Regions from separate parts of the Homo sapiens genome. Here regions 1, 3, 4, 5 and 6 are each linked to region 2. Evidence: promoter capture Hi-C in 16 types of primary human blood cells and fetal thymus (Javierre and others, 2016). All regions are on one chromosome and are shown on one strand. The core of a region is centred on a gene start or on the middle of the fragment in contact, and the rest is flanking DNA. Distances in the headings are between cores, read along the strand shown.

Region 1 (3,947 bases), core at 839-3,338, 320 kb before region 2:
AGTCAAATCTAGAATCCAGTTGCATGGCTGAAAGGGATATGTTAGCTCTGATTAAATAACAAGTTTTGACATGTAGCAGATGACAGACAACAGGAAGAGGCCCAGAGCATGTAAGTGCGCAGACTTCCAGTCATTTTCAATAAATGACTGTGTCAGTGGAACATCAGTAACCCACGACTTCCTTTAAAGTTCACTCTCTTAAAAATAAAAAAATAGGGACAATTTTTAAAAATTTAATTATATTTTATTTTAAATTCTGGGATACACGTGCAGGATGTAGAGGTTTTTACATAGGTAAACGTGTGCCATGGTAGTTTGCTGCGCCTATCAACCCATCACCTAGGTATTAAGCCCCATACACATTAGCTATTTATTCTGATACTCTACTTCCCCCTGCCCCCTTGACAGGCCCCAATGTGTGTTGTTCCCCTTTCTGTGTCCTTGTGTTCTCATTGTTCAGCTCTGACTTATAAGTGAGAGCATATGGTGTTTGATTTTCTGTTACTGTGTATGTTTGCTGAGGATGATGGCTTCCAGCTCCATCCATGTCCCTGCAAAAGACATGATCTTATTCCTTTTTATGGCTGCGTAGTATTCCATGGTATGTATGTACCACATTTTCTTTATCCAGTCTATCATTGATGGGTATTTGGGTTGATTCTGTTTCTTTGCTATTGTGAGTAGTGCTGCAATGAACATATATGTGCATGTATCTTTATAACAGAATGATTTGTATTCCTTTGGGTATATACCCAGTAATGGGATTGCTGGGTCAAATTGTATTTCTGTTTCTAGGTTTTTGAGGAATTGCCACACTGTCCTCCACAATGGTTGAACTAATTTACATTCCTACCAACAGTGTAAAAGTGCTTCTGTTTTTCCACAGCCTCACTAGCATCTGTTGTTTCTTGACTTTTTAATAATTGCCATCCTAACTGGTGTGAGATGGTATCTCATTGTGGTTTTGATTTGCATTTCTCTAATGATCAATGATGTTGAGCTTTTTTTCATATGTTTGTTGGCCACATAAATGTCTTCTTTTGAGAAGTGTCTGTTCATGTCCTTTGCCCACTTTTTAATGGGGTTGTTTTTTTTTTTCTTGTACATTTGTTTAAGTTCCTTGTAGATTCTGGATATTAGACCTTTGTCAGATGGATAGTTTGCAAAAATTTTTTCCCATTCTGTAGGTTCTTTGTTCACTCTGATGATAGTGTTTTTTGCTGCGCAGAAGCTCTTTAGTTTAATTAGATCCCATTTGTCAATTTTTGCTTTTGTTCCCATTGCTTTTGATGTTTTCATCATGAAATCTTTGGCCGTGCCTATGTCCTGAATGATACTGCCTAGCTTTTCTTCTAGGGTTTTTATAGTTTTGGGTTTTACATTTAAGTCTTTAATCCATCTTGAGTTAGTTTTTGTATAAGGTGTAAGGAAAAGGTCCAGTTTCAATTTTCTGCATATGGCTAGCCAGTTTTCCCAGAACCATCTATTAAATAGGGAATCCTTTCCCCATTGCTTTTTTTTGGTCAGGTTTGTCGAAGATCAGATGGTTGTAGATGTGCGGTCTTATTTCTGAGGTGTCTATTATGTTCAATTGGTCTATGTGTCTGTTTTTGTACCAGTACCTTGCTGTTTTGGTTACTGTAGCCTTGTAGTATTGTTTGAAGTTGGGTAGTGTGATGGTTCCAGCTTTGTTCTTTTTGCTTAGGACTGTCTTGGCTATATGGGCTCTTTTTTGCTTCCACAGGAATTCTAAAGTTGTTTTTTTTAATTCTGTGAAGAATGTCAATGGTAGTTTAGTGGGAATGGCATTGAATCTATAAATTACTTTAAGCATATGGACAGTTTCATGATATTGATTCTTCCTATCCATGAGCATAGAATGTTTTTCTATTTGTTTGTGTCCTTTCTTATTTCTTTGAACAATGATTTGTAGTTCTTGAAGAGGTCTTTCACTTCCCTTGTTAGCTATATTCCTAGGTATTTTATTCTCTTTGTAGCAATTGTGAATGCGCAGTCATTCATGATTTGGCTCTCTGCTTGTCTGTTGTTGGTATATAGGAATGCTTGTGATTTTTGCACATTGATTTTGTATCCTGAGACTTTTCTGAAGTTGCTTATCAACTTAAGTTTTTGGGCTGAGATGATGGGGTTTTCTAGATACAGGATTATATCACCTGCAAACAGAGACAGTTTTACTTCCTCTCTTACTATTTGAATACCCTTTATTTCTTTCTCTTGCCTGATTGCCCTGGCCAGGACTTCCAATACTATGTTGAATAGGAATGGTGAGAGAGGACATTCTTGTCTTGTGCCTGTTTTCAAAGGGAATGCTTCCAGCTTTTGCCCATTCAGTATGATACTGATTGTGAGTTTGTCATAATTGGCTCTTATTATTTTGAGGTATGTTCCATCAATACCTAGTTTATTGGGAGTTTTTTATATGAAGGGATGATTAATTTTATTGGAGGCCTTTTCTGCATCTATTGAGATAACCATGTGGTTTTTGTCTTTAATTACGTGATGAATTATGTTTATTAATTATTTAAAAATTATTTAAAATAGCATTGTTGGCTGACTCAGGTAGCTGCTGCTATTTTTGATGGTTTTTCATATCTTGTTTAAAATTGAAACCCCTGTAGTGTGGTATGTGTTTGGGGGTGGGGTAGATTCACAGTTTAATACATATTTATGTTGTAATTCAGAAATACCATATATTCTCCAATTAGGTTCTCTTTCATTTCCTGGCTTGCTGAACTATTGGAGACTTGAGCATTGTTGAGCTTCACTTCCTCGTAAACACCTCTGCCACCTAGTGGACTACTTGAAATCACTTAGGTTGACTCTCTGGGTGTGTTTACGCACCAGTATGTAAAGGGTTCAAATGTTACAGGGAGCGAACTAGGAAGTATAACTGGAGATGACTGTGAAACCTGGATTTATGTGTCGCCTCATGCTAAGATGAATTGAGTGGTTAGCCTGTACTTAGGTAAAATGTATTTTGTCTCCTGAGGTCTCCACACTCACAGGGATAGGCTTCCGCACTCTTTTTTTTTTTAATTATTATTTTATTATTATTGTACTTTAAGTTTTAGGGTACATGTGCACAACGTGCAGGTTAGTTACATATGTATACATGTGCCATGCTGGTGTGCCGCACCCATTAACTCGTCATTTAGCGTTAGGTATATCTCCTAATGCTATCCCTCCCCCCTCCCCCCACCCCACAACAGTCCCCAGAGTGTGATGTTCCCCTTCCTGTGTCCATGTGTTCTCATTGTTCAATTCCCATCTATGAGTGAGAACATGCAGTGTTTGGTTTTTTGTCCTTGCGATAGTTTACTGAGAATGATGATTTCCAATTTCATCCATGTCCCTACAAAGGACATGAACTCATCATTTTTTATGGCTGCGTAGTATTCCATGGTATATATGTGCCACATTTTCTTCATTCAGTCTATCATTGTTGGACATTTGGGTTGGTTCCAAGTCTTTGCTATTGTGAATAGTGCCGCAATAAACATACGTGTGCATGTGTCTTTATAGCAGCATGATTTATAGTCCTTTGGGTATATACCCAGTAATGGGATGGCTGGGTCAAATGGTATTTCTAGTTCTAGATCCCTGAGGAATCGCCACACTGACTTCCACAATGGTTGAACTAGTTTACAGTCCCACCAACAGTGTAAAAGTGTTCCTATTTCTCCACATCCTCTCCAGCACCTGTTGTTTCCTGACTTTTTAATGATCGCCATTCTAACTGGTGTGAGATGGTATCTCATTGTGGTTTTGATTTGCATTTCTCTGATGACCAGTGATGATGAGCATTTTTTCATGTGTCTTTTGGCTGAATAAATGTCTTCTTTTGAGAAGTGTCTGTTCATATCCTTGGCCCACTTGTTGATGGGGTTGTTTGTTTTTTTCTTGTAAATTTGTTTGAGTTCTTTGTA
Region 2 (4,002 bases), core at 790-3,289:
CGTAGATTAGATAATAGGAGAAGGGATCCATAAATGCTGGAGCTGATAATCAAAAATCATAGATAGAGGTAGGGCCAGGTTTCCAGGACCATGGGACTGAGGACTCTAGGGAGCCCAGTCCTTGGGGAGCTGTTAGAAAGGCAAGTGCACAGCAGGGATTGGAGCTGGTAAACAGTGAGTGCTGACCCACTAGGGCTTTCATTTCGGGTACTGTCAAGGGTTCAATTGCTAGATTTAATGCTTTGCCTTTCTGCAAATAAAGGCTGTGGGAGCCACACCAGACCAGACTGCAGGGGGATTCTGATAACAGTACTCATGCATGGCATTTAGGTAGCTTTTTAAATGTAAATGTTTTCCGGGAGACATAAAGATGGCATTAGGCATTAACACACACACACCTTAGAGTTAACATCTCAGTTATTTTATGTGTTGATTGTTTATCACAAACATCTACTTGTACATTAATGAGTTAATGAAGTAGGGATACAATGAGGCCTTGCCTTCAAATAGGAATGTAAGACTGCATAGGTACACACACACCCATGTAAACCAATGAAATGAGATATACAATGTGTTATGAGAGGAGCAGATGCAATATTATGAAATTGATTAGGAGGAAGAGAATAACTCAGATTAAGACAAACTGAGAAGGACATCTTGAAGAGTGTTTTTCATTGAGCTTTGGAAAAAATGAAATCTCTGAACATTTCAAGATGAGCAAAAATGGTTTCAGGGAGGAGAAATGCCATGCAGAATGCCCTCTGTAGGGTTTGGGGAAATTAAGAACCATTTGTTTTGGAAATAATATAATGACATAAAGGAAAGCTAGGTTCTAGTAGAGAGTTGAGGAACCTGTGACAAAAAGAAACAGAACAGCTCAGTTTGGATTGTGGGATGAGTCAAGGGGAAACTTCAAAGGGAATCTGGGTGGATTAGGTGATCTGGCAGCATGAAGCCAGGGATGCATCAGGGAGGAAGGGGTGGTTAGAACAGTAGGAGAGAAAGTGCAGAAAAGGGAAAGGAAACTTTTTCTTTGTCACCATTCTGCCATCTACTTACATTAGATGAATCCTTCTATTATGTTTCTGAACCCAGACCCAGCCAGGACTTGTCTCTATTCATTTTCTGGGCTGTGTCTAACAGGAGATAATAGGCTAGAGAGAGATGCTGTATGAACAAATAGAGAAACACATTTGTTTTAAACATTCTCTGTTGCTGATGTTGGAAAAAAATGTGAAACAATTATTGCACATTTCATTTCACTAAGTTTTACCTTTTTTCCCCTTTCCCCTAATTTTCTCTTTCTTGAATTTTGAACAAAATACACAGAAGGAAAACACAAAACACAGAAATGGAAAGTAAAATGGAAGAAAATATCAAGAAAACTTTATTCTTGCTTATATTTTAAAAGGCACATTTTAAAGTGTTATCTTAAAAATCCAGAGCATTTTAGAAGATGAAATGCCAAAAGGTCTCCATTATGTCTATATGTCTATGTCTTTGAGTGACAATCACAGTGCTGATGTAGAGGGAAAGGGGGAACTAGTTAGACACTGTCACTCACCTGGGAAGGCTTTATTCACCTGTTCCACAGGGCAGTGAGGCACCTTCAGCTCTGAATCACCGAAAGAGAATCTGGTGGGGCAAGTTCCAGCTGCATGAGGATTTGCTTGCATAAATATTTTTTACTTATTGCTAACACTGAGGGTGCCTTCTTACTCCCTGGCAAACATTAAACCACTTTTATTTCCTTTCATGGAAATAAGATTATATTTACAGATGGTTCTTAGATATACTCACCTGATTTTTTTTTAATTGCTTTTCCACCTGCTTCCCCTTTCTTCTTAGGGTGAAACTCTAGCCATACGCCCTCTTCTGGTTTCGGGTGAGGAGCCTGAATTGTGGGTATCGTAGTTCTCTTGCCTTTTGGGGTTTCTAGTTGGGCAGCTTTGGAGCCACAGTGGTAGAACTTCAAGTCCCAGGTGGCTCAGGAAGCAGGGGTGCAGTTGCCTGCCTGCATACGGAGCAAGGCATGTTTGAAGAGTACCCGGGTTTGGTAGAGTGACTTCTATTCACTAAAACCATGTGTCTGAACTGAAGAAGCTTGGGCTCACTTCCACAAATGTAAGTGCTGATTTTTTAAAAATAATATTCCTTTCACTATTGATATGTGCTACACACTAGGAAGTTGTATAATTTCCAGAAAAATGTAACAAACCAGCTGCTTAACAAATCAAGCCCTGCTTAAATAAAGGGAAGGTAACTGGTATTCTGTGGGCTTATGGGACATGTGTTAGAATAAACCTCATGACATAGAATAGAATAATACCTTGAGACATGGTTTAGAATAAAGTAGTTTATTTTAAAAAAAAGGAGGAACCCAGGTCACATTAACCATCAAAGGCAAAAACAAAACACTCTATGAGTTGCTTAAAATATGTAGATGGCTGAAATCCCCTAAAAACTTTAAATATCTCAAAAAGCATACAGGTATGTTAAAAAGACTGTGCTTTGAAGATAGATAAAGTTGCAATCAGCAGCCCCACTGCTTATTAGATTTATGACCATTGACAAGATGTTTCACCTCGCAAAGTCTCAGTTTCCTCATCTGTAAAGTGTGTGTGCATAACCTACCTCATTAGGTTAATAGCATTAAATTATGAATAAAAGATAATCATGTAATTAAGTTAAGGGGGTCATTAAATTAGCACAGTGCATTGTACTGAATAGACAGATGATACATGATGGAGGGTAACTTGGCTTCATCCTAATTAAGTTTCAATTAAGCTTGGAAAACACACCAAAGAAACAAAAAGACAAATACTGGATGATTCAACTTACCTGAGGTATCTGGAGTAGTCAAACTCACATAAATGATACTTAGAATGGTAGTTGCCAGGGGCTTGGGGGAAGGAGAAATGAGAGTTGTTTAATGGATATAGAGTTTCAGTTTACAAGATGAAAACACTTGGAGACTGTACAATAATGTAAATATATTTAATACTATTGAACTTAAAATTTGTAAGTGTAAACACTTACAAATGGTTAGGATGGTAAATTGTATGTTAAGTTTTTTACCACAATTAATAAAGATAGATTTTAAAAAATTTATTTTTAAGATCAAAAAGCATGTAGTGAAAATTCCAATGCCTTCCATTTATTAAAGGTCTTCCTAATTTCCTAAAAATGTCTTAAGTCTATATTCAGTGGGTCTAATTTAGGATTGATATTGACTTATCTATGTTAATGTCTGGTTTTTACATAGCAATTACTGGGTGATAATGATGAATTTCAGGTATATTCTTAAAGTTGTCTTAACCTCAGTGGTGATTCTTTTATGCCCCCCTGAACTTAATTACATGATTATCTTTTATTCATAATAGCGATTTTTAATATGATTTCATGGGTAGTGTACAGAATCTAGAAATTATGAAGTCATAATTATTAGTTACAATTTGCTTAAAAGCTTTAGTTATGACTCATTTTTAAAACTTAAAGCAAAAATATTATTTATTCCAGTTTTCTCAACTTCCTTGTAGCTAATTTACAAATAGAATATTTTTATCTGTTTGTGTTTTAGAGATAATAAAAACTATTAAGGCAAAGTTTGTTAAACACCATCTTATCTTAAAATGTATTGGCTGATTTGGAGGACAAAAGACATTTTGGAATTATACTAATTTTGAACTTGAAGACATGTCTGTTGAATTTTTAGAGAATTCTTTCTTGAAAGACCACACATATGCCTAGGTGTCTATTAAGACTAAACATCCCTTATGGCATTTGGTGATAAGTGAAGGTGATAACAACCAGCATTTCAGATGACTGTGCAGAGTTTTACATGTGATATGCCATATATTAATAAATGTAAACCCTATGTCAGCAAGTCCAGGATAGAATTAGAATGAAACTTGTAATTCTCCAAAGGTGGAGGAAAGCTGCAGAGGCACTGAACACTGTATACTTCTAAAAGGGTGGCTTTTTTTGTTGTTGTCAAGTGCC
Region 3 (3,803 bases), core at 809-3,308, 260 kb after region 2:
CGCCTCCCAGGTTCAAGGAATTCTCCTGCCTCAGCCTCCCGAGTAGCTGGGACTACAGGCGCCTGCCACCATGCCCGGCTAATTTTTAGTAGAGACGGGGTTTCACCCTCTTGGACAGGCTGGTCTCGAACTCCTGACCTTGTGATCCACCCGCCTCAGCCTCCCAAAGTGCTGGGATTACAGGCGTGAGCCACCGTGCCCGGCCAGTTCACTTTAAATTCTGAGCAGTACAAATGGTGTTTTTTAATAATGATTATCAATCTGTAAGTTTTGTTTTCCAGTAAAAGGGAGGGCCTAAATAATCACAACTCAGTTAGTTAATTTATAATTAATACTTCACCTAAAAAGAAAATGGGCTTATTGTGTGAAAAATAATAACAGTGAAATGCTCATATGAAATTTTATTGTAAAACTGTTTCATAATTAGAGTTTTATCAGATGTTATATTGTAGCATTAGCAAACTGGAACATGCAGTACTAAATATCAGCTGTAAGGGTTTTGGTAACTTCCTAAACTCTTTATAATTAATGACTCTTAAAAATGTTTGTAGTGTTATTTTTATTATGTCACCAAGTCATTAATATTTCAACATGGTAATAATCCAACTAAATGTAATTTTCCAGTTAAAACCACAGTAACCAAGGTGCCTTTTCAGTTAATAACAACATTGCCCAATATAAAAAAAATACTTCCTGAGAATTCCTGTAAAGCAGGATTTCTCAACCATGACACTATTGACACTTTGGGGCAAATAATTCTTTGCTGTGTGAGCTGTCCTGTGATTGCAGGATGTTTAGTAACATCTTTGGCATCTACCCGCTAAATGCCAATAGCACCTCCTTTCAGTTGTGACAACCAGAAATGTGTCCAGATGTTGTTAAGTGACCCATGGCTTGGTTGAAAATCAATGCGGTAAGAGCATAAACGTACCCAATTCTTAGGTGGCAAATAGTATACCCTTTGGTGGTTGAGTTAGCCTAAGAGTAAACCTAACTTTGTGGTCCTGAGTCACTCTTCCTTTTAAGTCATATCATCTTATCTAACTCATTCTAAATCTAGCCTATTTCTTCAACGTGCCCCATTTCTCAGCATTACTAATTTTGATGATTGAGTGCTTAAATGGATTTATAATTCAGACTGGCTCTGTCATTTGCTATAGGTGCACTTTACAAAAATACCACAATTTAAATGACTTTTTTTGTAAGCATTACAAAGGGTAACAGAGACTGCATGTTTACAACAACCATACAAATATATTTTAAAATGGTGTTTCTATTCATATCTCTGGGGTCTGTATCAATAAATAGGTATATTATTAGAAGTCACAAGGAAAATTAAGAAACACCAGAGAATGAATTGGCTCAGCCATGCTTATATCTTCTTGGCATACTGGGCTATTATCTTTCTGAATCTCCTTCACTGCCCCACTTTTTATTTAGTCTGACTCATTTTCTCAGGGATGAATTTATTAAAACAAAAACACACAGGCCTTTCAAATTTTGCTGAAGCTTCATTACAGTGGAGATAGGATCTAGAGCATCTGATGACAGAATCTCTTGCTCTCTCTCTCTTTCCCTCTCTGACACACACACACACACACACACACACACGCACACAATTTCCTGTGATACTAGAAAGCAATGATATATAAAATTTAAAAGTTAGAAAAACTATTTAGGTATTTTTAATGACGAAGAAGAAATATGAAATTCATTTTTTATTAGCACCAACCAGATGTGAGTATACATAAAATAGACAAATTGAGGAATAAAGTACTCCCAAAGGTAAACTGTATTGAAACCCATTATTCTCTGCATTCTCATTTGTTTTAAAAAAATGTATATATATATTAAAAACTTTACACTGTGTGATTTTAAAATACTGGATTCTAAAGTTAGCATTTATGGGGTATATACGAGTTGTGAAAATTTTCTTGATGACAGTTATTACAGGCACCTGTAATCCCAGCTACTCGAGGGGCTGAGGCAGGAGAATTGCTTGAACATGGGTGGCAGAGGTTGCAGTAAGCCAAGGCTGTACCACTGCACTCCAGCCTGGGTGACAGAGTGAGACTCCATCTCAGTTAAAAAAAATAAAAGCAAGGCTTGGGAAAGATACAGAACACTTTTGAAAGCCCTCAATAACATTACTTATCTGAGAAGTGCTCTCATTGTGCACTATCTACTATATCTTTCTGATTAATTCCCTTTGGTCATCACACATAAATCTGACTAGTATGTGCAACTGGTTACAGGTTAAAATTATCTTTGCAGGCTTCCTACCATTTAATTCTCAAAACAACTATATTTTGTGTAAAAGCAAACTCCCTTAGAGAGGCTAAGTTACTTAGTTTGCTAGTAACTGGTAATGGCAGGATTTGAACACAAATGCTCTGAACACCAAATCTCCATCTCACTTGTGTTTTTCCCTAGTCATCAATCTTATAAGAACTGTGTATTAGGCCATTCTCACATTGCTATAAAGAAATATCCGAGACTGGGTAATTTATAAAGAAAAGAGATTTAACTGGCTCAGGATTCTGCAGGCTTTACAGGAAGCATGGTGCTGGCATCTGCTCACCGTCTAGAAAGGCCTCAGGAAGCTTACAGTCATGGCAAAAGGCAGAGGGGGAGCAGGCGTGTCACTTGGCAAAAGCAGGAGCAAGAAAGCGATTGGGGTGGGGAGGTGCCACATACTTCTAAAGGAACACATCTGATGAGAACTCACTATCACAAAGACAGCACCAAGCTACGAGGGATCCACCCCCATAATCTAAATACCTCCCTCCAGACCACACCTACAGCACTGGAGAATCTAATTTAACATGAGATTTGGATGGGGTCATGTATTTGAACTGTATCATTTCACCCCGGCCCCCTTCAAATCTTATGTCCTCACATTTCAAAATATAATAATCTCTTCTCAGTAGTCCCCCCAAAATCTTAACTCATTCCAGCATTAATCCAAAAGTCCCAAGTTCCAAATCCACAGTATTATCTGGAAATGAGTTTCTTTTACCTATGAGCTGTAAAAATAAATAAATAAATAAATAATAAGTTAGTTGCTTCCAAGATACAGTGGGAGTTCAGGCATTGGGTAAACATTCCTGTTCCAAAAGACAGAAGTCATCAAAAAGAAAGGGGCTACATGCCCCATACAAGTTCAAAACCCCATGGGGCAGTCATTAAGTCTTAAAGCTCCAAAGTCATCTCCATTGACTACATGTCCCCCATCCAGGGAAAATGGGTGCAGAAGGTGGGCTCTCAAGGCCTTAGGCAGCTCCACCTGTGGCTTTTCAGAGTGCATACCCCAAGGCTGCTCTTACAGGCTGGAGTTGAGTGACTGCCCCTTTACTACATGCAGAGTGCAAGCTACTGGTATATCTACCATTCTCAGGTCTGGAGGATGGTGGCCTTCTTCCCACAGTTTCACTAGGCAATGCCCCAGTGGGGACTCTGTGTGAGGCCTCCAACTCCACATTTCTCCTCCACACTCCCTTAGTAGAGGCTCTCTGTGAGGGGCTCCATCACAACAGCAGGCTTCTGCCTGGACACAGAGACTTTCTCATATATCCTCTGAAATCTAGGCTGAGGCTACCAAGGCTCAACTCTTACACTCTGTGTACCTGAAAACTTAACTTTACATAGAAGCTGCCTAAGCTTACAGCATGCACCCTCTGGAGCTATGGACCAAGCTATACCTGGGCCCGTTTGAGCCAAGGCTGGATCTGGAACAGCCAGGATGTAGGGAACATTGTCCTGAGACTGTGCAGGGAAGCAAGGCCCTAGGCCTGTCCCACAAA
Region 4 (3,915 bases), core at 1,123-3,622, 340 kb before region 2:
GCTGCGAACCTGGTATTCCTGTGCTCTTGGGGGCCTGGGAAGGCCCCCTGCCCCTGCAAGCTTGGAAATGCCTGCTTCCCCTGCCTGGCTTCTCCCCTTTCTGATTTCAGAGCAAAGTTGAGGCTGAGTGCTGGTGCTGTCATGACTTGGCCGGGTGTGCGCATGCTAGGGGCAGCACTGACATGCCAGTCTCTTGCTTCCTCGGCCCCTTCTGGACTTTGGGTGCAAATGAGCACAAGAGGGAGGCCAGGGGGGACTGAGGGTGGCTTGGTGTGGACCTGCAGGCACCTTGTCACAAACAGCCTGGGTGCTGGTGGCCATAGGTTGAGGGTGGGAGGCAGACAGGCTCCTGGGCAGAAAGGGTCAGGTGCCTGGTGAAGCCCCACCTTCGGGCCTGGGATGGCCCGAAGTCTCAGGGCTGGGCTGCCAGTTCTGCCCACCGAAGTGAGAACTTAAGGTGCTTTTTCCAAGCCTGCCCATGACTACTCATAAACCAATCAGCACACCCTTCCTTCCACCTGAAACCCATAGAATCACCCAGATTCAGCCAGACTTGAGTAGAGCAGATGTCCAGGATGACCTGCCTGTAGAGAGGAGCTACCCGTTGTGGGTCTCCTCTCAGCTGAGGGCTGAGCAAGACATCAGGACAGACTGCCTGTAGAGTGGAGCTACACACTGTGGGTCTCCTCTCAGCTGAGGCCTGAGCAGATTTTGGGACTACCTGCCTGCGGATAAGAGCTACCCGCTTTAGGTCTCCTGAGAGCTGTACTGTCGCTCAATAAACCACCTCCTCACCTTATTCACCCTCCAGTTGTCTGCATACCTCATTCTTCCTGGGCATGGGAGAAGAAGTTGGGATCCGTGGGATGGTGGGACTAAAAGAGCTGTAACACAAACAGGGCTGAAACAGGCCCCTTGCCCACCGCCTTGCAGTGACAAGAAGGAGAGAAGAGAGAAGGAGAGGAGCTGTGGCCCTTCAGGGAGCTCAGATCTAGGAGCTCCCCGAGCCAGGGCTGTGACACCCTCTTTGGGACTCTGCGGTTCCTATAGTCTCCAAGCTTCTGGGCGCCACCACGTTCCCCATTGCCAGCAGCGGGAGCTGCTTGCAGTATGCTTGGTCCAGCCGCAGCTTCACAGGGAGCCGACACCTGTGTTGGCGCCTACAGCTGCGTGTCCCTCGGCAGCCAGTGTGCCTGGCTGTGCACAGTGGCCGGACCCCACGTTTGCTCACCCACACACCCCTCGCCACTCTGCATGTGGCTCACCTTTAGCAGGCATGGGATCCGGGCTGGTAGCATGAGGTGAGCGCAGGCTGCCGGGCAGAGTGGGCAGAATGAGCCCAGCAGGCTCAAGCAAAACTCGGGCAAGGACACCACCGGTTACAGAGCTTTTCCCGCTGGAAAAGAAACACCCTAAGAATCCTGTGACATAAGCATCCGATTACTTTTCTTCTTTATTTATAACTGAAAGAGGCAAGTGCAGTGTTTACAGTTTTATGAGTAGTTGCCGTAGGCATCAGTGATTGAAATTGCAAAAGCACAAATATAAAACTTTCCAGGTGTTGCAAATGAAGACCATATGTGAGATAAAGCTGTAATATGATTAGAATACAGGTTAAAGGATGACACTGATTTTTAAAGGCTGCAGTTACAGTGAAATTTTCTTTTAGGTAAATACAGTGATTTCTGACTTTATTTGCTTTTGTGCACCTCTTGTATATCGCACCTTGTATATTTATTTACAATAAGTAATATACTTGGAACTGTCTTACCAACTAGTTTCCAATTTTGTGAAAGTTACTCCAAGCTTTCCTTTTAGGAGTTTGTTCTAGTGTCCCAGATAAAGTTTCCCTGAACTTGATATTTTTCCCCCTCAAACTAAAAACAAAACAAAAACAACAAATGAGCCACTTTTAATTGATATATAATATACAAACAGAAAAGTTTATGCAAATCATTCACGTACACTGAGTGGATTTTCACAAATTGTACATGATACATAACTAGCAACTTAGAGCACCCCTTTATATTTCCTTCTAGATGCTCACAAACTTTTGTATACAAAAGCAAAATTAGCCCACTAGCCTCCTGTTGCATCATTTCAAAGTTTAGAATTTTTACCCTCTTTTAGGAATTGACTACATTTTAAATTAGACTGTATATTATAGCAGAATGAATTTCTCTGCTTATTCTATAAATAGTTGCAATTACACTGACATTCTTCTCAGAGCTAGGTGCATCCACTAGTGCGCAGAATGTTTTTATCAGCTTGAAAACTCTGCCCTTGAACGTGAAGCCTATCTAAGTTTATTTGGTCAGATTAGCTGTTATATATTAAGATTGCATAAAGATTAACCAAGATTAAGTATTTCTTTTGTAGAAACACATAGGTATAAAAGTATATACATTTAGAAGTAAAATCTGGCAACTTCTTTTCCCTCTTTTTCTCTTGAGTCTTTAAATATTTTTATGAAATATTAACTGTTACTCTATATAAGAAGAAAAGTAAGAGTCCAGTAATGGTGTTTCATATTTCATAGTATAAGCAGTTTTTTTTAACTAGGCTTTAGTTGTCTGTCATTAGCTGTTGTACAATAATCCTGCATCTGTATATATTACTATGTATTACTACACACATAACAATATATAATATTGTATGTATATATAATATATAAATAATAAACTTTGTTTATATTTAAAGCATTTTAAAAGAATTGCTAATGTTTTCTTACTGCGTCTTCTTAGAATACCTTAATATACCTTCCTCCAAAAGGTCATCTTTTAATCTCTTAATCTAAAGTACTTAGTTTCTTGGTTTTATTGTTCTCCCTCAGAGCAAGTATCCAGTTCTTTTCCCATATAGTACTTACCATAATGTGTGAGAAAAAAATCTGAACTTACTACTTAATATCAGGCTTCCTCAGTAGACTCAAGCTTGTAGGTTAGAGACCTGATCGTGTTTGTTTTGCCCATGGGTATATTTGTAGTGCTGAAACTATATTAATCATGTGGTACAGATTCAATGATATTTGTTGCATGAATGAATGCTTGAACAATATGATTATGTTTTCTTTTTAAAGGGAACACTGCAACTGTTGAGCCTAGGTAAAATTATGCAAGCTTAATTTTCTGACTTCCCAAGCCTGTTTGCTCCCTGTTCTTTCCCCCTGCTCTGCTCATTTCAGTGTCCTCTTCAAGTCTTTTCTTTGCATGATCAGAGCCATCTGCCTTCTAAGCAGAGCTCAGTTACACTGGATCCCTCACTAACCCTGAGTCTGAACCTTAGGATCCTCTTACTTCCTTCCCTCTGGCTCTGTCTTTAGGCCACATTTAGAGAACCAAGCTTCAGACTTTTCTGCAGACTGGAGCTTCCTATCTGTCATGTGGAGGTAGAGGGTTACAGATGTGGTGCGTGGTCAGAGCCTTTGCTATGAGTAGCTTCATCCATTTCTTCTCAGGATAAAAATACCATGATTTTCTTTTTGTAGCAAGATGTAAGAAAGTTGAGATGCACTGTCATAGGTCTGTTCTCTGTCAGAATAAGCTTGCAAAAATAGCCTGGGACTCAGAGGCTACAGCCTACTCTTAAGCCCTGGCTAGGTGGCTGGAGTGCTATCCTCTGCAGATAGTCCTCTCTGGTGTTAGCTGTTAGCCTTTTCACATAAAAGTTGACCATTGCCATCGGTGGATTTCCTAGCAATGTTCAGCTTGTCTTATGGGATGCCCCATGGATTGCGATCGGATTCCTGCATGTGAACTGCTTACAAAGCATGGTTGCCATACTTCCTTGGCTGCCATATTAGTCATTCCCTTTGAATTCACAGTTCGGTTTCACCTTCCCTAGGTATTTCCAGCCCCAAATTGTGGTCCTCTTAAGTATACCTTTTGGGCAGCAGGGCAGTAATGGGTGATGCTC
Region 5 (3,738 bases), core at 242-2,741, 300 kb before region 2:
TTAAAGGGACCACAAGGTGGTACAGAAAAGCTTCTGCAGGATGTAGCTCAATTCAGTGAGTTATTTTATAAGAGCAAAACTGTTAAAATTTTACTCAATATTCAACCTGAACATTTTGATGTATATTGTAATTTTCAATATTAAAATGCTTCATCTATTATGTGCTTTTCTTCAATCTCTTTTGAGACAGTTACAGAATATACTAGAAAGCCTTCTATCATCTATTGTCTGTTTAAATATTCCCTGAGAATTTTAGTATTTGGGGTTTTTATCATTTGTCAATGACATATGATACTGTGATTAGTTGATGTAAATATTCTTTGATCTTCTAATTTAGTCAAGGCTTGTCAAAATGGTAAGGAGAACTGAAGAGGCTCTTACCAGCCAAAGTGCCACTCCCCTCAGCCAGTCAGAAGGGCTTCTCTTACCTGGCCATATTTCCTCCATTAGTGTCACTGCTTTGGGTAGAACAACAAAGTAAGGATGCTAACGCCCTGGTAGGATAAATTTATTGGTTACCTGGGAATGGAGGAGAGTGCTGAGAAAGTCCTCTCCCTTCCTCCATTCAGCATTGCCAGATCATGTCTTAGGTGAACTCTCTTTTAAACAATTTAGAGTGTTTCTGGTAGCATATAAACATTTTTTACTATTTGATTTTTTAAAATCTAAAACATTTTTGTGGAATTTTTTGTTTGCTTATTTTGATGTGGGAGAGGGGATTGAGATTGCTTTTTAAATGATACAGAGCCCAAACTGGAAATTTGTTTTTGCTATTTACCAGCTATGGTATCTTTGGACGAAACATTTATTTCTGTGGAGCTATTACAATCTCCTTTGTAAAATGGAAAAAATAACGTTCGCTCCACCTACTTGATAGAATTTTTGTGGTCATCAAATAATATGCTGTGAATAAAAATACTCCATAGGCTGCAATATTTTCTTTTCACGGGTGACTCTGTTGAATCTACATTGAAATAGCTTTATCAGAGTTCAAAGCAGAAAAAAAAATTTCTGTTATAACTTATATTTTAAAACTTGCTTTTTTGAAGAGGGTTGCAAAATACCTTTTTGATATTTTATAGGTTTTTCTTTACAAAAATATGTTTATTTTGAAAAATAATAGAGATAAGCAAAAATGTTATTAAAAATTGTTCAAAAAATTGTTCATAGCCCTAGCATTCAGAAATAACAATAATCTGTGATTATCCACAAGATGGTACTTGGGGGAGGGGCATATGAAATCAATCCTTTCCATGGTGCTGGCCTGGAAGCATGGCAGAAGGTTTTTTGAATTTCATTAAGTGACTTCTAGGATCTGTTTTTGAAGACAGCAAAAAATATCTACAAAATTTTATTCTAGACATTACCAATCCTGTCTTTAGTCCTTGTATTTGGTATCATTACTCTGTCCTTGTGGGAATAAGCCTTAGCTGCCTATGCTTTATAGAAGAAAAATCCAATTAATCACTATAACTGCATCCAGCTCTCCAGCTGGCTCATTGCCAACTCTCTGCCACTTAGCTGAGGCCAAATTAGACTAATAGTTTTGTGCACTGAACAGTGAGACTTTCAGCTTCTTATGATGATTCATGTGTTACAGCTGCAGTTCACGCTCGTTAACAATATCTGACTTTTCACTGAACCACAGAGCTTCCTTTCCTCACAGTTTATCTTTTGATAAGATTTTAACTCTGTTTTCTAGATGGGGATTTGAAAGTTAATAAAATTCATAGACTTCAAGAAGTCATTCAGAATAGAGTCGATTGCCAGAAAATTAATTATTTTAAATTTTTGCCAATATTCACATTTACAAAATATATGCTTCCTCTGAGAAAATACTTTTTCTTGTTTTCAGATAAATTATTTGTACCTAAATTTTTTTTACTTGGAATTAAAACTTCCCAAATGTGTCCTTTCTGAAAGTTTTGTTGTAAATAAGCCATAAGTTTACTTTTATGATTTTAGGAGTATTTATGAGTATTATTTCATCTTGCATTTACCCAGTAGGCTCTGTTATGTGAGCACATTATGAGAGGAAATGACAATTTGTTCAAATCAAAAGGTTAAGAAACTAAGTGTATATTCTTATCAATATCCCTGAAGTATTTTATTTTAAAATGTTCAAAAGTAAAAAGAATAACCTTATATTATCAAAACATAATACATTAATTAAAATTATGTAGTATCAAATATACCATCAAACAAAAGTTTTTAATATTTATCTGGTATAAATATATTAAAACAGACTTAAATTTATAACAAAAATAAATATAGTTAAACATAGAAGAAATAATAAATGCATTGTATTAGCTTTAAAGAAATATAATGTGTTTGTGTAAATGTTTTCAAAAATCGTGCCCATATTTTTTAACAAACAATTTTAACTTAAATCAATAGTGTACTTTCCTTGCTCCTAGTGGTTTTGGATGTGGTTCTTGAGTATAGTCTTCTCTAATATGGCAGATAAATCAATCTGACCTTCTTTTCAACATTCACAGTTGAATGAGGAGAGTATAATTTTTCCAGTCTGCAGCTGACTTCTTTATTCATTTGTTAAGATTATGGTTAGTCTTTGTAGTGGATTCTGTGGCTTGGTTCCCTTAAACATGTATTCCAACCTCTTTCTTCTGGGACGTCTAGTACTGTAATGCTTGGAGATTAAAAAGAAAAAGTAAAGCATTTCTCAGATGTCCTTGTGGCTAAGATTTCAGTTGTGATTTGGGGTCCTCCAATCTGGTACTTTGATGGTCAACTTGAATTTTGAACTAAGTTAATTAGGATAGAGACCATAATTCTGCTCTTCAGGTGGTGACACAGGCAGCATAGACCTGAGCCACCAATTTCCTGATTTTCAGCAACTTTCTTCATTGGTAGGTGCAATGTCCCTGGGTGTAGCAGCAGTGAGACAATTTCTGGGGCTGGACACTTCTTGGATATTCTGCCTGAAGCTTAATCTGCCTTACTTTTCAGATCACCAGACAGTTTTTAAGCCACAGGAATAGCTAGTGATACGTTCTATTCTGTATTACAGGTTTCTCTCGTCTTAAATGAAACTCGAATCAATAAAGAGCCTACCTCAATTATAAATTATTCAAGGGCATTTTGATTACCCATTCCTGATGAAGGAACCCATAGATTTTCCATAATCTTTTGATTTGTCATTTAATCCATGATTTAAGTGAACATTAATAGCAAATAAAACAGCTTTTTGAATAGATTTTTAGAGAGAGAAATATTGAGAATACAAGCGGAAATGTGTTTTATCTTCTGATACTCTTTTTATAGAGAATGATAACTTTAGTGATATAATCAAGGTAAATATACACATTAATATAATCGTACATCTGTATGTACTATTTGAGTAGTTAGTGATACCAAAATTCAAAAGTAATACATTTGAGAAAGGTATGATAGTGAATTTACATTACTCTCTCATTGCCTTCATCTGTCTGGTATATAATTTATGATAATGTTCAGGCACCAATTCCTTAATAATACCTTCTCTTCCTCTCCCATGCATGATTCTGTAACCACTAAAAATATACACATGCACACACACACAAATAAACACACACACACACTGTTTCTATTTACCACTTCTGTACTAGTTATATTAGTACTTTGGTCAAAATATGTGACAATTGTTTAGTCTATTTTCTATTCTTGATTATGAGGTTGATGAGAGTGGTAACAAGTGTGTTTTTATTAACCTTTGAGTTGGTAGTATCTGGAATACTT
Region 6 (3,639 bases), core at 1,078-3,577, 270 kb before region 2:
TGATCTTCTGCTTCACATAATGTTCATTCAAAAAAGTGAGTAAAAGTTTTTTCCCTGAAAAGAATTTTTATTTTATTTATTTCAAGTTTTGAATTATGATTACTTATACAAAATATGCTCAATATGTTGCAATAAGAGGATTAGTAACTAAAACAACCAGGGTGAGTTTCTAGCAAAATTTGAATCCTCTGATGTCTCCTGACAGTAATAAGACAAAAAGTGGCATTAACATGTACATTTTACCTTCAATGTAATCCTGAGTAGAATTTATATTCCTGTGAAGAAAAGTCTAACATACACATCGTATTTTTATTTTATATATTAGAAATAATATATAGATTTTCTTTGGGTTTTATGGCCACAAATATATGTTTCATGATTCTCTATAACATTAGGTGTCTTAGCTAATGCTGCTATGTAATCCGGTCCAAGGGAGAGGTAAGCATTCATGTATCTTTTGTTTCAATAAACTGAAGGAATAAAGATAGATCTAAAAGTAGCCACCTTTCCAACCTGCCTGTTATTCATCAGCAAGCTGACTTATCAGGTGAGTTAGATGTAAGTCTGCTATGTCATCAATTTCAGGGGACACATTCAAATTTTTGTGTATTAAAAGCAGTACTTTTAATATTCAAAAAATCTGGTTATTTTGTAACTTTAATAGGGATAGGAGTTTAAAATCATGTCACAAGTTTTGGGATATTTTCTTTGAAGGTTTCTGTCTTAGTCTGAAATCTTTTATTTCTTGTTGTCTCCTAATAAACTTCCAGAGTTTATGAATATAACAGTGTATTAGAAAATCACACACAAGAATGAAAGAGGCTTTGTCCAATGTATGTGAAGATGATGTCATTAAATGTTAATGCCAAAGGATATTTTTGCAGACATTAAAATGCAATAGAGATAACATCCCAAAACCAGGTGCAATTAATTAAGAACAGATTTGGTGATGAAGTCTTCTTGGAAGATGGCCATGGCCAGGCCATGAATCCTCACTAGTTGTACCCCATCCTAGAAGAAGACAACTCCAGATTTATGTAGAGGTGGTTGTATTAGTCTGTTCTCACACTGCTATAAAGCAATACCTGAGACTGGTTATTTAAAAAAAAAAGAGGTTTAATTGGTTCATGGTTCTGCAGGCTGTACAGGAAGCATAGCATCTTCTGCTTCTGGGGAAGCCTCAGGAAACTTACAACCATAGCGACAAACAAAGGGAAAACAGGCACATTTTACTTGGCTGGAGCAGAAGAAGAGAGAGACGGGGAAGGTGCCACACACTTTTAAAAAACCAAATCTTGTGATAATTCACTTACTCTGCAGTCTTAAGTGGGATGGTGTTAAACCATGAGAAGCTGCCGCCATGATTCCATCACCTCCCACCAGGCCCCACCTCCAACATTGGGGATTACAATTCCACATGAGATTTGGGTGGGGACACAGATCCAACCTGTATTATTCTTCTCCTGGCCCCTCCCAAATCTCATGTCCTTCTCACATTTCAAAATACAGTCATGCCTTCCCAGCAGTCCCCAAAAGTCTTAACTCATTTCAAGCATTAACTGAAAAGTCCAAAGTCCAAAGTCTTGTCTGAGACTAGGCTAGCCTCCTCCACCTGTAAAATAAAAAACAAGTTAGTTATTCCTAAGATACAATGGGGATACAGGCATTAGGTGAATACTCCCATTCCAAAAGGGAAAAATTGGCCAAAAGAAAGGGGCTACAGACCCCCAGTAGGGCTGGATTTCAGACTTGCACAGGGCGTGTAGATATGTATGTCTATCTCCAATCCAAGGTATATAAGGTTTATTTGTATATAAAGTATATTTTTATACACATATTTATAAATATATACACACACACACTTTATACCTTTTTCATCTCTTTACTTTCTATGTGTCTTTACATATAATTTTCCTGTAGTAATATATACATATTACTTATATATATTATATTATACTATGTATAATTTTCCTGTAGTTATATATGTATAAAAATACTTTGACATATAATAAAAGTCAAATACTTGGAGATAATAGGATTCACAAAGTTTGGAGTAAGGATGTCATTTCTAAAGAAATTGCTTTTTAAGTTTAACAAACCTCTATTTAAGGGATATTCTGACTTAAACATGTAGTTCTAAAATATCATCTAAGTAAAAATATCTTAGAGAATTTGTAAAATAAATGTAAATTTAACATCACTTATTAGATCAATAAATATTCAGCATCAACATTGTAGTAAGCATTACTTTAGATTCTGGGAATACAGCAGTAAACAAAACAGATGAAAATTATTGTAATTGCTTTATAGTTTTATTCCATTGTTGTCTGAAAATAATCTTGATATAATTTTGGTTTTTAAAAATTTGCTGGGGCTTGTTTTGTGGTCTAATATATGGTCCATCCTGGATAATGTTCTATGTGCTGATGAGAAGAATGTTTATTCTGTGGCTATTGGATAAAATGTTCTGTAAATGTGTTAGGTCCATATGGTTTTTAAAGTATAGTTTAAATTCAATATTTCTTTGTTAATTTTCTGTGTAAATAATCTTCCTAATGCTGCGAGTAGGGTGTTGAAGACCCCAACTAATAGTGTATTGGAGTCTATTTCTTCCTTTAGATCTAATATTTGCTTTATATATCTGGGTGCATCAAAGTTGGGTGCATATATATTTTGAATTGTTATAGCCTCTTGCTGAACTAATTGCTTTATCTTTATATGTATCCCCATATTTATATAATGATAAAAGGATTAATTCAGCAAGAGGATGTAACAATTCTTTGTCTCTATTTATTGTTTTTTACTTAAAGTTTCTTTCATCTGACATAAATATAGCTACTCCTGCTCACTTTTGGCTTGCATTTGCATGGAATATCCTTTTCTCTCTCTTTACTTTCAGTATATATGTGTCTTTACAGATAAGTTTCCTATAGGCAGCATATAGTTGGATCATGTTTTTTAATTCATTCAACCAGCCTATATTTTTTAAGTGGAAAGTTTAATTCATTCACATTGAAGATTGTTATTGATATGTGAGAGCTTATTACTGTATTTTTATTAATTAATTCCTAATTGTTTTTTATATTCTTTGTTCCTTCCTTTGTCTCTTATGTTTGTCATTGTGATTTGATGGTTTCTGTAGTCTTGACATTTGTGTCCTCTTTCTTATTTATGTGTTTTCTCTACCATTGGTTTTCATAGTTTTGTGTGTTTTGTTCATGGTAGGTATCATCCTTTTGCATCTAGGTGTAGCATTCCCTTAGGCTTTTGAAGTAGGACTGGTCTAGTGGTGATAAATTCCTTCAGCTTTTGCTTGTCTGGGAAAGACTTTATTTTTCCTTCATTTATAAGTAATAAGTATTCTTGGCTGATTTTCTTTTGTCTTTCAGTTCTTTGAATATATCATCCTGTTCTCTCCTGGCCTGAAAGGTTTCTGCTGAAAAATTTGCTTAGTCTGATGAGAGTTCCCTTACAAGTGACTAGATGCTTTTCTCTTACTGTTTTTAGAATTATCTCTTTGTCTTTGACTTTTGACAATTTGGCTATAATGTGCCTTAAAGAAGACCTTTGGTTTATATTTATTTCAGGATCTCTGAGCTTCCAGTATCTGGATGTTTAAATTTCTTGCTAAACTTGGGA

Evidence for each region. The method cuts DNA at HindIII sites, captures the fragments that hold promoters and counts their contacts. A CHiCAGO score of 5 or more calls a contact.
Region 1: a contact is called between a fragment that was not itself captured here and the fragment with the promoter of MACC1 in region 2, in 1 of 17 cell types (monocytes). The highest score is 6.3, in monocytes.
Region 3: a contact is called between a fragment that was not itself captured here and the fragment with the promoter of MACC1 in region 2, in 1 of 17 cell types (M2 macrophages). The highest score is 5.7, in M2 macrophages.
Region 4: a fragment that was not itself captured here is called in contact with the fragment with the promoter of MACC1 in region 2 in 1 of 17 cell types (monocytes); the score reaches 6.3 in monocytes.
Region 5: a contact is called between a fragment that was not itself captured here and the fragment with the promoter of MACC1 in region 2, in 1 of 17 cell types (monocytes). The highest score is 6.7, in monocytes.
Region 6: a fragment that was not itself captured here is called in contact with the fragment with the promoter of MACC1 in region 2 in 1 of 17 cell types (monocytes); the score reaches 6.7 in monocytes.

Annotation. Positions count from the first base shown.
Region 1 is chr7:20,538,266-20,542,212 of GRCh38, reverse strand. No RefSeq gene overlaps it. Among named protein-coding and RNA genes, the nearest start is that of ABCB5, 75 kb to the left of the region's middle. The HindIII fragment of the contact is 6,913 bases long and covers 1-3,947 here.
Region 2 is chr7:20,215,421-20,219,422 of GRCh38, reverse strand. MACC1 (MET transcriptional regulator MACC1) reads left to right here and starts at 2,039. Exons shown (of 7, transcript NM_182762.4): 1 at 2,039-2,124. It overlaps GIRGL (glutamine insufficiency regulator of glutaminase lncRNA), which reads right to left and starts at 1,846. Exons shown (of 4, transcript NR_134569.1): 1 at 1,801-1,846; 2 at 1,060-1,167. RefSeq lists an enhancer at 1,015-2,214. The HindIII fragment of the contact is 5,395 bases long and covers 1-2,105 here.
Region 3 is chr7:19,955,527-19,959,329 of GRCh38, reverse strand. All of the region lies in intron 5 of MACC1-OT1 (MACC1 3' UTR overlapping transcript 1), which reads left to right. Among named protein-coding and RNA genes, the nearest start is that of MACC1-OT1, 180 kb to the left of the region's middle. The HindIII fragment of the contact is 1,094 bases long and covers 1,512-2,605 here.
Region 4 is chr7:20,556,775-20,560,689 of GRCh38, reverse strand. No RefSeq gene overlaps it. Among named protein-coding and RNA genes, the nearest start is that of ABCB5, 57 kb to the left of the region's middle. RefSeq lists enhancers at 1-84, 1-487, 708-1,208. The HindIII fragment of the contact is 1,127 bases long and covers 1,809-2,935 here.
Region 5 is chr7:20,512,348-20,516,085 of GRCh38, reverse strand. No RefSeq gene overlaps it. Among named protein-coding and RNA genes, the nearest start is that of ABCB5, 100 kb to the left of the region's middle. The HindIII fragment of the contact is 2,918 bases long and covers 33-2,950 here.
Region 6 is chr7:20,488,710-20,492,348 of GRCh38, reverse strand. No RefSeq gene overlaps it. Among named protein-coding and RNA genes, the nearest start is that of ABCB5, 130 kb to the left of the region's middle. The HindIII fragment of the contact is 6,088 bases long and covers 1-3,639 here.